Linked DNA regions of Homo sapiens: region 2 is linked to region 1. The links are contacts of gene promoters, found by promoter capture Hi-C in human tissues and cell types (Jung and others, 2019). All regions are on one chromosome and are shown on one strand. The core of a region is centred on a gene start or on the middle of the fragment in contact, and the rest is flanking DNA. Distances in the headings are between cores, read along the strand shown. Region 1 holds the start of PRF1 (perforin 1). Region 2 overlaps CDH23 (cadherin related 23).

Region 1 (7,595 bases), core at 4,804-7,303:
AAAAAAATACAATGGTGGGATGGGCATAGATAGACATTCCCATTCCAAAAGGGAGCAATAGGAAAGAAGAAAGGGGTGACAGGCCTTGACCAAGTCCAAAACCCAACAGAGCAAACAACAGTAAATCTTAAGACTTGAAAATAATCTTTGACTCTGTGCCCCACCTTCTGCACACACTGGGGTGGAAGTCATGCTTCCAGGCAGCACTGTCCCCACAGCTTCGCTTGGCACCACCCACGCAGTGGCCCTCATGTATTGGAGTCCAGTCCCTGAGAATCTCCCAGATTGGAGTTGCATGCTGGTGGCTCTCCTGGTCTGGCATCTCCAGGGTCACTCTGCCCCCATGGCTCCACTGGGAGCCCTAGTGGGGGATTTCTGAGGTGGCCCCAACCCCACAGGTCCATTAGACATTTCCCTAGTGGGGGCTCTCTGAAGTGGTCTCACATCTATGATAGTTCTCTGTCTGGGCCCCAAGCCTCTGTAGGACATCCTTTGAAATCCAGGTGGTCATAGCCATGCCCCCACTGCAGTTTAACACTGCATGGATACCATGCTCCAATGTATCCAATTTTACACTTGTGGGCATGAAGCACGGCGCTCCAGCCATGGAGCATGGTATCCATGGGGCAACCAAAGGGACAACCACTGTAGACCACACTGCACCTAGGCCCACTAGCCACACTTGAGGTGACCAACGAGCTCTGTGCCAGAATGCATGGAGTAGAAATTTGATGCAGCCCTGGGCAGCAAACCACAAAGCCCCAAAGGCATCCTGGGTCCCTCCCTTGAAACCATTCGGACCACAAAACCCTGGCACTCTGGGCCTGTAATAGTAGTGGCAGCCTTGAGGATCTCCAAAATGCCTTGGGGGCCATTTTCCCATCGTCTTGATGAATATCACCTGGCATTCTTCTAGCCATATAAATCTCCCTATCAAACATTCACTTGGCCACACCATTGGTATTCTCTCTCAAACACTTTCTCATTCTTTACAACCTGGCCACGCTGAGAACTTTCCAACTCTTTTAAGTTCTACTTCCCTTTTAACTATATGTTTCACCCTTAATTCATTTCTCTCATCTTGTATTTTACTGTAAGCAATCAAGAAAAGCCATGCTGCATCCTCAACACTTTGCTTAGAGATTTCTTCTACCAAATATACTCTTTCGTTGCTCATAAGTTTTGCCTTCCACAAAACACTAGAACACAAACACAATGCAGCCAAATTCTTTGCCACTTTATAACAAGGATCACCTTTCTTCCACTTAACAAGAAGATGTTTCTTATTTCCATCTAAGACCTCATCAAAGTAGCCTTTACCGTTTATATTTCTACCAATGTTCCACTTGCAACCACTTAAATAATCTCTAAAATGATTGAAGCTCTCTCTACAGTTCTCCTCGTCTTCTGAACCCTCACTAGAAAAACCCTTTATAGTCCGTTCACAGAAATACAAGTTTTTTTCAGCATGAACCTCAAACTCTTCCAGCCTCTACCCATTACTCAGCTGCAAAGCTCCTTCCACATTTTTAGGTATTTGTTACAGCAGCACCCCACTCCCAGCACAATTTCTTGCTTAGTCTACTCCTGCTGCCATAGCAAAATATGTTAGACTGGATAATTTATAAATAATAGAAATGTATTTCTCACAGTTATGGAGGCTGGAAAGTTCAAGATCAAAGTACCAGCAGACGTGGTATCTGGTGAAAGTTTGCTCTCTGCTCCACAGACGGTGCCTGTTGCTGTGACCTCATATGGTGGAAGGGCAGAAGAGCAAGAAGGTACAAACAGACTCCCTCAAGCCCTTTTATAAGGGCACTAATCCCATTCATGAAGGCAGAACCCTCATGACCTAATTACCTCCTAAAGGCCCCACTCCTTAATACTATTGCATTGAGGATTAAGTTTCAACATGAATCTTGGAGGGACATGAACATTCCAAGATAGCAAGATTTATGGCACTGTTCTATCTAAAGCAGGTATTTTATAACCTAAAAAAATCAAAACCATATACGATATCCACATGCAAAAGAATGAAGTTGGACCCCTTTCCATACACAAAAATTAACTCCAAATGGATAATAGACCTAAATATAAGAGCTAAAACTATAAAACTCTTAGAAGAAAACATAGGAATAAATCTTCATGATCTTGGATTAGGCAGAACCTTCTTAGATATGGCATTAAAAATATAAGCAACAAAAGAAAAAAATAGGTAAATTGAACTTCAACAAAAGTAAAAAAATTTTTTTTTTTTTGAGACAGAGTCTTGCTCTGTCACCCAGGCTGGAGTGCAGTGGCATGATCTCGGCTCACTGTAAGCTCCGCCTCCTGGGTTCATGCCATTCTCCTGCCTCAGCCTCCTGAGTAGCTGGGACTACAGGCGCCCGCCACCACGCCCGGCTAATTTTTTGTATTTTTTTAGTAGAGACGGGGTTTCACTGTGTTAGCCAGGATGGTCTCGATCTCCTGACTTCGTGATCCGCCTGCCTCGGCCTCCCAAAGCGCTGGGATTACAGGCATGAGCCACCCCTCCCGGCCTGTAAAATCTTTTTTTTTTTTTTGAGACAGTGTCTCGATCTGTCACCCAGGCCAGAGTAAAGCGGTGCGATCTTGGCTCATTGCAGCCTCGACCCCTCAGGCTCAAGAAATCCTCCCACCTAAGCCTTCTGAGTAGCTTGGACTACAGGGGTGTGTGTGTGCCACCACTCTCAGCTAATTTTTTTTTTTTTTTCCAGAGACAGGGTCTTGCCATGTTGCCCAGGCTGGTCTCGAACTCCTGGGCTCAAGCAATCCTCGCACCTCAGCCTCCCAAATAGCTGGAACTATTTGGAACTATCCCAAAAAGCAGGCACACATCACCATGCCTGGCTAATTTTTGTATTTTTTGTACAGACAGGGTTTTGCCACATTGCCTAGGTTGGTCTTGAATTCCTGGACTTAAGCGATCCTCCTACCTTGGCCTCCCAAAGTGCTGGCATTACAGATGTGAGCCACCATGCCTGGCCAAAAGTAAAATATTTTTATACTTCAAGGGCACCCTCAAGAAAGTGAAAAGAAAGACAACTGCCAAAATAGGAAAAAATATTTGCAAATTCTATATCTGACAAGGGTCTAGAAGTCAAAACGTAGAAAGAGCTATTACAATTCAACAATAAAAAGACAACTCAGTTCAAAATAGGGGCAAAGGACTTGAATAGACATTTCTCCAAAGAAGGTGTACAAATGGCCAATAAGCATATGGAAAGATGTTCAACTTCATTAGCCACTGGGGAGATCCAAGTCAAAACCACAATGAGGTACGACTTCACACCCACCAGGATGGCTATAATCAAGGTTTGGCAAGGAACTAGTGGAACCTTGGTTTGATTTGGAAAGGAGGAATTAGAACTCTCATAAGCTGCTGGAGAAATGCAAAACAATGCAATCACGTTGGAAAACACTTCCTCAAAAAGTTAAACCTATAGTTACCACATGTCCCAGCAAGTCCACTCCTAGATATATACTCAGGAGAAATGGAAACATATGTCCACACAGTAACCTGTACACAAATGTTCATAACAGCATTATTCATAACAGCTAAAAAGTAGAAACAACCAATAAATCCATCAGTTATGAATGGGTAAACAAATTGTGATATGTCCATATAATATAATATTATTCAGCCATGAAATGGACTAAAGTACTGATACATGCTACAACATGGATGAACCTTGAAAGTATTATGTTAAATGAAACAAGCCAGACACAAAAGGCCACATATGCTATGATTCTTTTTATATGAATTGTCGAAAATGGGAAAATTAACAGAGAGATAAAGTAGATTAGCGTTATGAAGAAATGAGAAATGGCCAGGCACGGTGGCTCACGCCTGTAATCCCAGCACTTTGGGAGGCCAAGGTGGGCTGATCACTTGCAGATCAGGAGTTCAAGACCAGCCTGGCCATCATGGTGAAACCCCGTCTCTACTAAAAATACAAAAAAAAAAAAAAAAAATTAGCCAGGCGTGGTAGCGCATGCCTGTAGTCCCAGCTACTGGGGAGGCTGAGGTGGGAGAATCGCTTGAACCTGGGAGGCAGAGGTTGCAGTAAGCCGAGATCATGCCACTGCACTCCAGTCTGGGTGACAAATCAAGACTTCATCTCAAAAAAAAAAAAAAAAAGAAAAAGAAAAAGAAAAAGAAATGAGAAATGACCACCAGTGGGTATAGGTTTTATTTCTGGAAAGTGATGAAGATGTTCTAAAATTGACTGTAGCGGTGGCTGTACAACTCTGTGAACATACTAAAGCCATTGAATCATATACTTGAAATGGGTGAATTATATGGTATGTGAATTACATCTAAAGATTGTTGTTACTAAAGAAAACCATATACATGGTGTCTGGTGATTGAACAAATTACGCACTTGTTGAAACTTGTGTCTCTGAGGAAAAACTCTGCTTAATGCACATTCAAGTGTCAAGTTTCAGAAGGACAGCTGTCATCAGTTAAACGAGTCAAAAACAGTCATCACCCTCAATGTCATTTCGGCTCTTTAATGGATCCCCTAACAACCACTAGCATCTCTTGGGCATTAGCCACTTCATAAGCCACTTGAAACCTGCCAAGTGTACATTTTATCATTAGCTGGAAGGATGTGTAGAATTCCAAAGTCCTCTCTTTGATTTTATAGGTGAGGAAACTAACGCTCAGAAAGGGGGTTGATATCTATCGCCGTGAGGCATACGGTAAGTTTCTGGTGAAGCTGGGATCAGAACCTGTTTAGACTTTGCCTCTCTTTTCCCGCAGATACTTTGCAGGACTTCTATGTCCCTCAAACCGGCCTTCCTGTCATGGTCAGGAAAGAAACTCCTCACAGCCTCAGCATCCAAGTCAGGCCATGGGTGACAGCTGGAAAGTGATCAGGAGGCTGCAGTTTCTAGAAGAGGGTGGGGACACTGCGGAGAGAAGATGGGGCCAGATTCCGAGAAGACAGCATAAGCCCCTGTTCCTGTAAGAGCAGGGACGGAAGCAGGGACATAAACGCAAGGGATGAGCCCCAAAGTGTGACCCATGAGACATGATGTCACATGTGGTCTGGAGCCTGCGGCCACTTCTTCCCATCATATACACAGTTATGAGAACAAGTTGTGAGAACCACCTCCTCCCTTACCCAGCTGCCCCCACCCCAGAAGCCGTGTGATTTTGCCCCCCAGTGCCCTGTGAGTCACTCCACCCATGGAAACCTCACCCCACCCTGACCTCAAGCAAGGCAGAGTGCAGAAGACATGTCCTCCGGTGCTACCAGACCACTCTCACCAGCACCCACGACCTCAGCAGGGCTGGAGCCAGCGTGGAGGCCACTGGCTGTCCTCACAAAGCGAGGAGCAGGAGCCCCTGTTCGAGGAACATGCTTGGAGTTCGGAGCCTGGGCTAGGGTGGGATGTAGGTTGAGCAGGAAGTGGATGGCAAGATTAGAGCAACATCTCTCTTCTCCCACTCAGGGAGGAGGGAATGGCCACAGGCTCTGACACTCAAGAAGGGCCAGGCACAGTTCCAAGCACTTCACAACAACCCCTAGGGTCTACATGACCTACAATCCCAATTGTTCAGTGAAGAAACTGAGGCACAGTGAGGCTGAAGAACCCTACCAGTCCACACTGCTGGTGCATAACCGAGCTGCCCAAGCCCCGGCGGTCTGGCGTGTAGGCCCATGCTCTGAGCCGCCGCCTCTGCTTGCCTCTTACATCCCACACATGCGATGCTGTGCATCAGAAGCAAGGAGATGGCCCTGCTGGCCTGTTCATCAACACCAGGGCCGAGTCTCAAAGTCCTCAGCGCCCCGCCCTCCTCCGCCTGTGTGCCCTGAGTCCCCGAGCCCCAGCAGCTCTACTCGGCAGATGAGCCTCTGGCCCTGCTGCTCGCTTCCTGAGGGCTGTCAGTGGGGAGCCGGATGAGGGCTGAGGACAGGGTGGGTGCTTGTGGGAGGGGAGAGCACAAAGGACCTGTGACCACAGCTGGGGGCGGGGCAGGAAGTAGAAGTGATGTGAGTGGTGGCTGGTGCAAGGAGCCACAGTGGGCTGCCTGGGGGGCTGATGCCACCATTCCAGGAGCCTCGGTGAAGAGAGGATATCCATCTGTGTAGCCGCTTCTCTATACGGGATTCCAGGTAAGGAGAGAGCAGGGATTGGGGGGCCTGGGGCCCTGGGTGGAGGGGAAGAGGCTGATGGAGCAGGAAGTGCTGTGACCTATAAGACAAGACACCTGGGTCACAGACGGTGCCCATCACTAACTCGCTGGGCAGCCCTGTGTCCACCCTGGGCCTCAGTTTCCTCATGTATGAAATGAAGAGGTAGCGTGCAGTTTCTAAGGCCCTGCAAGTGCTGACATTAAAGCTTCTAAGAAAGCTGGAAAGAGGCTCCCTGGGACAGAATACCATGAGAGTCAGGATGAGGGCTGAGTTCACTGGATTAGGGTTATGACTGTGCCCGCCTCCTAGCTGGGATGAGCCCAGGGCCTTTGAAGATTCCCCTGGCCTCTTTGCCTCCCTGGGGCGAGCCACGCTGCCTGAAATTCCACCCTTCAAGTCACACCTTTGGGCAGGGCAGGAGGCTCCAGCTATAATGGGGGCTCTCCATAGCCCTCTTGTCTCAGAACCTGTGGTACCCAAGGGCAAAGGCCTTTGAAGAGCTCAGCTTGGATAAGGTTAGGCTTGGGTAAGGTTAGAGAAAGGAGGTTCCAGATCATAAACAGGCCCAGGCAAGGCCCCAGAAACACCTTAAAATTAGGAAGAACCTTCCAGACAATCATTGTCCATAGTAGGCAATAGGGGGGCCCCTGTCACTGCCGAAGGCCACAGAGCTTGGCAGGGAGTGGCAAAGAGGGGAGGGGCAGCAAGAAAGGATCTGAAGAGCAACCATCGAGGCCTCTCCCCACACAAAATCCAAGGGTGTGGTCAGGTCTGCCCCTTTTTTTTTTTTTTTTTGAGGCAGAGTCTTACTCTATCACCCAGGCGGGAGTGCAGTGGTACGATCTTGGCTCACTGCAACCTCCGCCTCCTGGGTTCAAGCGATTCTCCTGTCTCAGCCTCCCAAGTAGCTGGGATTACAGGCACCCGCCACCATGCCCAGCTAATTTTTGTATTTTTAGTAAAGAGGGGGTTTCACCACGTTGGCCAGGCTGGTCTCGAACTTCTGACCTCCAGTGATCCACCTGCCTCTGCCTCCCACAGTGTTCGGTTTACAGGTGTGAGCCACCACACCTGGCCAGGTCGGCAGATTTTATTCTAGAATTCGGGCTGATGTTATTCCATAAAGCTCAGAGGGAGAGCCCCAAAGGGAAAATGAGAAGAATAGGTGCAATATAGGACCTCATTTCTCTTCCAATTCTGTTAAGGGCTCAGTGGGAGGGAGAGAGGTTAGAGAGAGTGACAGAGACAAAGAAACAGAGTGAGAGTCAGGGTGGGCAAAGGGTGGCTTGTTCTGGGGCCAAAAATGACACTTCTTCAGAATGAAGGCTTCCTCAGGTCCCCAGACCCCTCCCTAAACCTGCTACAGCTACTCTGTCCCCTCTTCTGTGGCCACAGCCCCCTCCCCACCACCCACAGTTGTGTCCT
Region 2 (7,595 bases), core at 4,540-7,039, 1.1 Mb before region 1:
CCACAGACCCTACCTCAACCTGGGGCACTGTGAGGCCCTAGAAGTCTCCAGGGGGTCCTCTCCAAGGTAATGAGACATACCCATGTATATACATATGTATGCATATATACATTTTATGGCTATAAAATTGGAAATAATTTTTATAACTTCCTTTTCAAAATATTTGGCTATGACAAACTTGACTAACATATAAGCTTCTTGATTTCTGATTTCCTGGCAATCATCATACGTAACTGGGAATTCCAGAAAATTCTGGAAAATTTTCAAGAATTCTAGAAAAATCTAACCTCCAATTTGTCCTCGAATGTAATGAAATTTTCACAAACACTAAATTTCATAGTTACTAAAGCTGCCATCTTTCATCTGATAGATGTTTCATATAACAAGTTTTAATTTTGATTTTGCCCTTTTATCTTTGAACTTTCAGGTCATCACATTTATTTTTCAGGTCTCAAATACTACCCTGGGGCACCAAAAATCTCCAGCCTGTGCCCACCTGACGCCAGCGGTGGAACAGCCACACCCGCTCTGTACTACAGATAGGGATGATGCGGCTGACTCCTCAGGGGTGACAATGGGGCAGACCCTGCGGGTTTTGTAGGTCTGGCAAGGGCTCTGGCTTTTGCACAGGGTGAGATGGGAACCACTGGGGTTTGAATAGAAGAGTGACATGACACTCCCCAAAGGCAGGCAGGGCGGGAGCTTCCTTTTTTTTTTTGAGACAGGGTCTCACTCTGTCACTCAGGCTGGAGTGCAGTGGTGTGATCTTGGCTCACTGCAGCTTCTATCATCCAGGCTCAAAAATCATCTTGCCTTAGCCTCCTGAGTATCTGGGACCACAGGTGTGCACCACCACACCTGGCTACTTAAAAAAAATTTTATAAAGGGGGTGGGGATCTTACTATGTTGCCCATACTGGTCTCAAACTCCTGGGCTCAAGCGATCTGCCTGCCTTGGCCTCCCAAAGTGCTGAGATTACAGGCGTGAGCCACTGCACCTGGCCTGGTGTTGCTTCCTGTACCCTCAGCCTGACAAGCGTGGGGCCTGGCATGCAGTAGGCATTCCCTGATAGCTCGTGGATTTCCTGGAAAGTGAGGAGGCACTGGGCAGCAGGTCCTTGGTCCATTGTCCATGCCTGCTCATGGCTCAGAAGGACATGTGGAGGGCAGGAGACCTGGTGAAGGGCGGGGGGACCAAAGCTTGCAGATGCCCAAGACTGTGTGCAGTCCTCACCTGGCACACCCACGCCTTGTCTGCCGGGTGTACTATTTGATAACGGCAATCCAGGCTGGTGTCCTGTGCAGCCCCCTTTTCCCAGAGCAACCTTCCTCACCTGCCCCTCAATCCCCTTTGGGAGGAATTTCCCAAAAACCTAAGGGAAAGGTGAGGGTTGACCAGAAGGTGTTCAGAGGTGAGATCCAGCCCCAGCTCTTGGAATCCCTGGCTGGGGTGGGGAGGAGGTTACCCTGGGCCAGTGCAGTGCCCACAAGGCGGCAGCAGAGAGCACCCACCAAAGAGCCTAGAGAGCTGTGTCAAAGGGCGAGGGTCCTGGTTTCTAAACCTGGCCCTGGGCTGGAAGGAATTCCTCTACGGGGCTTTGAAAAAAATCGCAGATTCCAGATCCCTCACCTCTGCCCTATTCCACTGTGCCTATTCCAGTGCCAGAGCCATACTTGGCAGTGGCTCTGGATGGGAGAGGAGGTCAACCTGGAAGGAAGGACAAAGAGGGAGGGAAGGATTGGCCGTCATGCCTATCTTCCTTTCCACATTGTTCACTGACTGGCTGTCAGCTGGTGTGTGGGTGCCCCCTCCCAGAGGAATAAGGACTGGGCCAGGTGGTTTCTAATCCCTTGTCTCCAAGTCAGACAGACCAGGGTTCGAGTCCTGACCGCACCCTTTACTAGCTTTGGGACCTTGGGCAAGCCTTTAAGCTCTAAGTCTGTCTCCTCCACAGTGCAGTGGCAACGGAATCCCTCTGCCTTGTGAGATTACAGTGAGGAGGAGAGAGTTCCTGAGAAGCCCTCAGGGGAGGCTCAGAGCACATCCCAGGTGTTCAGTCAATTGCCAGGATTCATGTCCCCCACAGGGCTGGGTGGGTGGCAGTGGGGATGTTCATGTGGGGACAAGCCTCCTCAAGTAAGGCCACGTGGTGTACAGGGTGGGGGAGGAGAAGGCTGAAAAATGTGGACCTCCCAGCAGAGCAGATGGTGTGGGGGTGGGACCTGGGCTTCCTCAGTTTCCCCAGGATTCTGGTCTCCGCTGGAGATGCCCTGGCTTTGACCGTGTCTCCCCTCTGCACCCTGAATTGTGCACATTCCTGCACATGAGCACACAACACACACAGGGGCCTGTGCAAACCTGGCAAACCTGTGCCAGAAAATTCCTGAGGTGAACAAAACCCCTGCTGGGCAGCCGTGGGGGCCAGCCCGTGGGGGAGGTGACCCAGATGGATGACTGCAGGGGCACAGCAGTGAAAGACAGGTGCTGGGGTGGAGCTGGGGCTTGTGCAGTGTAGGGGTGGGAGCTCTCCAGAGGGGGTGGCCAGAGTCCTGGGCTCTAAGGGCACGTGTGGCTCACAAGCGGAACCGGCCAGAGCTCCCCTGCCACTGTCCCTGGGCTGCCTGAAGCTCCCTTTGACAAAGCCTGAGGCCTACTGACACTGGAGGCCGGATGAGGGCTTTCCCTTGACCTCTGACTGCCTTTCACCATGCAGGAGAACCGCTAGAACTCTATTGCAAGAGCCAGCTCAGAGGGACACAGAGTCCACCAGCCCCATAGGGGAAGGCCCCCTGGAATCGCAGTGGGAGGGGCACAGACCCCTGGGAAGGGCCGCCTGGCAGTTCTGCTGCTCTGCCACCACCTACCGTGGTCACATCAGAGTCTGGAGGGGTCATCTCCACCAGGTTGATGTAGTAGGGTGCGTCCTTCCACGTGGGGTGGTTGTCATTGATGTCCAGGAGGGTGATGTTTACCTGTGAAGCCATAAGGGGCGCTGGGAGACACACCCAGCTGAGATGGGCCAGGGCAGGGCCTGCCAGGGGAAAAGTGCTCAGATGCCCACGGGCAATCTTCGCATTAATTCTGCCAGCTCCACCAACCTTGGGAGCCTTGGGCAGAGCCTGGGCTTTCGAGGGCAGGAAGGAGCCAGGCCGCTTCAGGAGAGAGAGTTCCAGTGTTGTCCCATCAGGAGGCAGTGGAATGGATGTGATAAGCCCTGAAATCCTTGCTGTGACCTGGGGCTTCCCCCATCCCTGCCTCCAGTCTTGGCTGAAGGTGACTGACAGGGTGGGGGATCTAATAGAATCCCTTGAGCCTCCCCGTCTCAGCTACAAGCCAAGCAATTTCCCTGCTCACCTGCCACCAGGTACATTATTTATAGGGCTCTGATTCCTATTAGTAGGAGCCTCCCTTGACAGAGTAGGGCACTGGGGATTTTTCCATCAAATCCCTGGCCACGCGATACCGTCTCCAGCCTCTCTGGCTGGGTAAGGATGGGGTGGCTGCTGCAGACTGGGTGAGGGCCACAGTTTTGAGGGTGAGCCAAAGAAACCGAATGGGGAACAAAGAGGGGAGGTGGCTGGAGTGACTGTCAGCTGGTCCTCCCGCTTCCTCTCCCACAGAGGGCTTCTCACTTCCCCTTTCACTTCTGCAGCCGAGAGCTCATTCGAGGCCCCCACGTTTCGTTCCTCTAGCTTTCTACTCTCTGGGGCACATTAGATGGGGGAGAACAAGCCCCCAGGGACCCTCCAGGGCCCTGCTTCCTGCTCTGAGCTGCTCTTCCTCGCAGGAATGCCTGCTTCTGCTTTGTTGACAGGCACCAAGGCAAGGAGGGGCCTATGGGGCTCATGCCTTCTGCCACCTGCCCTCCTGGATTTTTAGGGGCAGGAGAGAAAGTATTTCATTTTGCTCCTCCCAAGTGCCCCTACATTCCTGGTGGTGATGCCTTTCTTCCCCACAGCTGTGGTGGCCCCGGGGGCTGACCTCTGCTGCTGATGGGTTCATTTTCGCCCCCTTGCTCATTCTCACAAAGCCTCACACTGGCTCAGGACACGGGGGTCCAGAGGTACAAGCAGGGAGCAGCAGCCTGGCCGGCGAGGGGGAGCTGGGGCACGGGAGGGGAGCGCACTCACGGTGGCGATGCCAGTTTTCTGGTTGTGGCCCACACCCCCGTCCACTGCGCGAACGATGAGGATGTATTCAGACTTGGTCTCTCGGTCAAGCAGAGACGTGGTGGTGATTTCCCCTGCCAGAGAGAGAAGTGGGTGCGTGAGAGGGTTTGGGTGGGCCAGGGAGAGAGGGAGGGAAGAAGAGAGAGAGCGAGGGAAGGAGAGAGGGTGAGAACTTGCACGAGAAATGTTAGCAAGCTACCATGATCTGGCGGCCTGGATGTGTTCCTGAGCTGGTGCTCACAGTGGGAGACGGGAGAGCTCCTGTGCCTTGGGAGCTGGTTCCCCAGGGCTGGGCAACATAACCCCATGAGGAGGAAATATTTGCAGATGTGGGAAAATCTAGGCTGATTCTCGGGGTTAGGGGCTGGAGAACAGGGCAGGAGGGCCATTAGGCCTTAAGCTCAGTCACAGATCACCTCTTGTTTAGACTTTTGACATTATCTTACTGGCTTTCTCACCTGGAGCTAGTTACTTCAATCCTCTGTGCCTCAGTTTCCTCATAGGGTCCAAAGGGAACCATAATAGGAACTACCTCATAGGGCTATTGTGGGGTTAATTTAATTAAGATCATGGAAATCTTAGAACAGTGCCAGGCACTGTTTATTTATACAGTCACAGAAATACAATGACAGGAAATAAAAACACCGGGTGTTCACATGCGTCTAACTTGTGACTCATTACTGGACAGTTCAACCTATCCAACCTTATCGTGCATTGATAATTAATAGTTATAAAATAATTTCCTAATTACATTGTGAAGAGCATAATTACATTGCCTCGAGTTGTTTTAGTGTGCTAAATCTGAACAATTAAACAACATTTCTTGTTCGCCTGTATTTGGTCTTTCTTTGTATTTTGGTGTAACTGAAATGCAAACATCACCCTGATAGTGGCGTGCTGGTAAATGTTTGACAACTGGCTCCCCAAAATAAAAAAAAAAAAAGGCATTTGCCAATTTCCTTGGTGTAAATAGCCCCACCAGGGCCCATTTTAAGCTACCAACTTGGTGGTATTGAATATGGAGTTCACAATTGAGTGCCTCGCTAGCTCTTGGGAGCAGGGTGAGCCAGTCCCAGCAGACTTCAGCAATCACAGCAGCCAGGCCATTTACTATCTTGCATCAGCCATGGGAGAGCACCCACGTGGTGAAGATGTGAGATGTGGATTTGAATTCTGATTATGGCCCTTCCCAGACGCTTGGCCTTGGAGAATTTTAATTCTTTGAAGCTTCAGTTTTCTCATCTATAAAATGGAGATTAGTGTGACTTCCATGCAGAGCCGTTGTGAGGCTACAGTAATTCTAGGTGAGGCTCCCAACACTCAGAAAATGACTGTTTTCTTCCAATGGACCGTGAGCATTCTCCACGGGCAGGGCCTGTGTGCTATCCATCTTTTTATCCCCATTGCCTGAGCTGTGTGACCTGGGCCAAGTCGCTTAACTTCTCTGTGCTTGGTTCTTTCCACCATAAAACAAGGCAGCTGGACCAGATTGCTTTTAGGACTGCTTCTACCCTGACAGTTCCCTCTGTGGCACACTGGCTTGCCCTCTGGTCTGTGCAGGGGCTGAGCAGGGAGCTGGGGGTGGGTGACAGGGCAGCTTAGGTGCTGAGGCCAGGAATGGAAGACTCACAAAGGTCTGCCCAACGAGCCACACTCCCTGCCAGGGTGGTGTCAAGTAATTGGCAGGGCGAGGAAGAAATTAATCTCTAAAAAGTTTTAAACGTGAACTTGTCGGCATGATAGATGGCCTCTCCTGTCTAGGAAATTAGATCCAATTAAGGCCACCTCTGTGGAGCAGCCCTGGCTAATTTGACCGAGGAACTCAGAGGAAAACACTTACACCTTTGGAGACAAAGTCGTGTTAAGGCAGCAAGAAAATGTCTGTGTCATTAAAGGCCCCAGGTGGAGCTGGAGCCCCGACTGGGGAGGCAAGGGCGGGGGTGGCTAAAAGGCCAGGGAGCTACTCATATAATGGCGCCTTTAATGTTTGGATTCTGGAGTCAGAAGTTCGTGCTCTGCGAGTCCTCAGTCAGGTTACTTAACCTCCCCAGTGGCTCAGCTTCCTCATCTGGAAAATGGGGATAAGGCTAGTACCTGCCTCACAGGTGAGGAGGGCAGAATGAGATGCTGCTGCTGCTCAGAGCCCTGGGAACAGTGCTGGGCATGTGGTTCATATCCATTCATGACATGACTCTGAGACCCCTGGGAATGAGGGCTCACTGTGGGGGAAGCTCCTGAGAGCTGGGAGGAGGGCCCTCACTTTCTCAGAGATAGAAAAGGAGGCTCACAGTGGCCCTGGGTCCCCTTCCTCAGTCTTCGTACCCATCAGCACCGGCCATCTGCTCCCCAAGCCTCCAGGAAAAGGGATTGAAGGCTGACTTCCAACGTGGAGGGATGGATAGCAGGAAGAGCTGATGCCCTGCTGGCCACTGACCACCTGCAGCAGGGATGGCCAGTGTCCACCAAAGATTCCTGCTCCCTTCCCAGGGGAGAATTATTACTTGGATGTGACTGCCAGGCAGGGCCTGGCCCATAACCTCCTCCTAGTGCTCTGACAACCCATGCTCTCTTTTCCCTTCTGCAGTGACCTTGGAGCCACAACATGGAAGGGGCCTGGGTCCCAGAATCATCATGTGGAAGGCTGTCACTCAACATCTACATGGGTTGACTATATGAATTTGAATTTGTATTGTCTCAAGCCACTGAGATAGGGTGTAGCTGTTTAGCATCGACAGTTCCTTTAACTCATACAGAAATGCGTATTGGAAGTGGGGTGCCTTGCATGCCCACTGAGCTGACTAGCAACCTCATGAGGTCAGAGCCATGTCTTATTCCTTCCTGTACCCCAGCACCTGGCTCAGAGCAGCCCCCACCCCAATTTCTGAATGAACATATGAATAAATGAACATATGAATGAATGTACAGAAGTCCCAATTCTTCCCCAGGTCTGGCTGAAAGCCTGGATCTCTTGCTGCTTCTTTCTGCCCACTTTTTCTCCCAGCTTCAAGGAAGAGAGAAAACTGAGGAATGTACATGGAGAGACGAAGAAGAAAGAAGAGAGTTACATGGGCTGAGCTGGGAGCTGGGGGCAGGGGGCTCACAGGTGAATAAACAAAAGAGAATAATGATGGTAATTTTTTTTAGCACTTTTCGTGTGCCAGGGACTAATCAAAGTTGCTCCCTATTATGTATCATTTAATCCACACAACAGCCCTAATATGATCTTCCTCATTTTACAGGTGGGGAAACTGAGGCACACATCCGTGTAAGAAGAGGAGCCAGGCTTTAAGAATGAGGTCAGCAGCTGAGGGAGGGGGACCCTGAGGCTTTAATAAAGGTGTTCCTGAAGAGGGGTGTGTTAACCAGCTCTTTGTAAGATGGAGCACATTTAAAACATAATACAACTCTTCACCCTTGAAAGACGTC

The links. The method cuts DNA at HindIII sites, captures the fragments that hold promoters and counts their contacts. A contact is called where the count stands out against the background at its distance.
Region 2: a contact is called between a fragment that was not itself captured here and the fragment with the promoter of PRF1 in region 1, in 1 of the 25 tissues and cell types used here (H1 embryonic stem cells).

Annotation. Positions count from the first base shown.
Region 1 is chr10:70,601,199-70,608,793 of GRCh38, reverse strand. PRF1 (perforin 1) reads left to right here and starts at 6,053. Exons shown (of 3, transcript NM_001083116.3): 1 at 6,053-6,149. The HindIII fragment of the contact is 18,183 bases long and covers 1-7,595 here.
Region 2 is chr10:71,690,795-71,698,389 of GRCh38, reverse strand. It overlaps CDH23 (cadherin related 23), which reads right to left. Exons shown (of 70, transcript NM_022124.6): 21 at 4,131-4,243; 22 at 2,865-2,972. Among named protein-coding and RNA genes, the nearest start is that of C10orf105, 25 kb to the left of the region's middle. RefSeq lists an enhancer at 4,268-4,337. The HindIII fragment of the contact is 4,982 bases long and covers 3,299-7,595 here.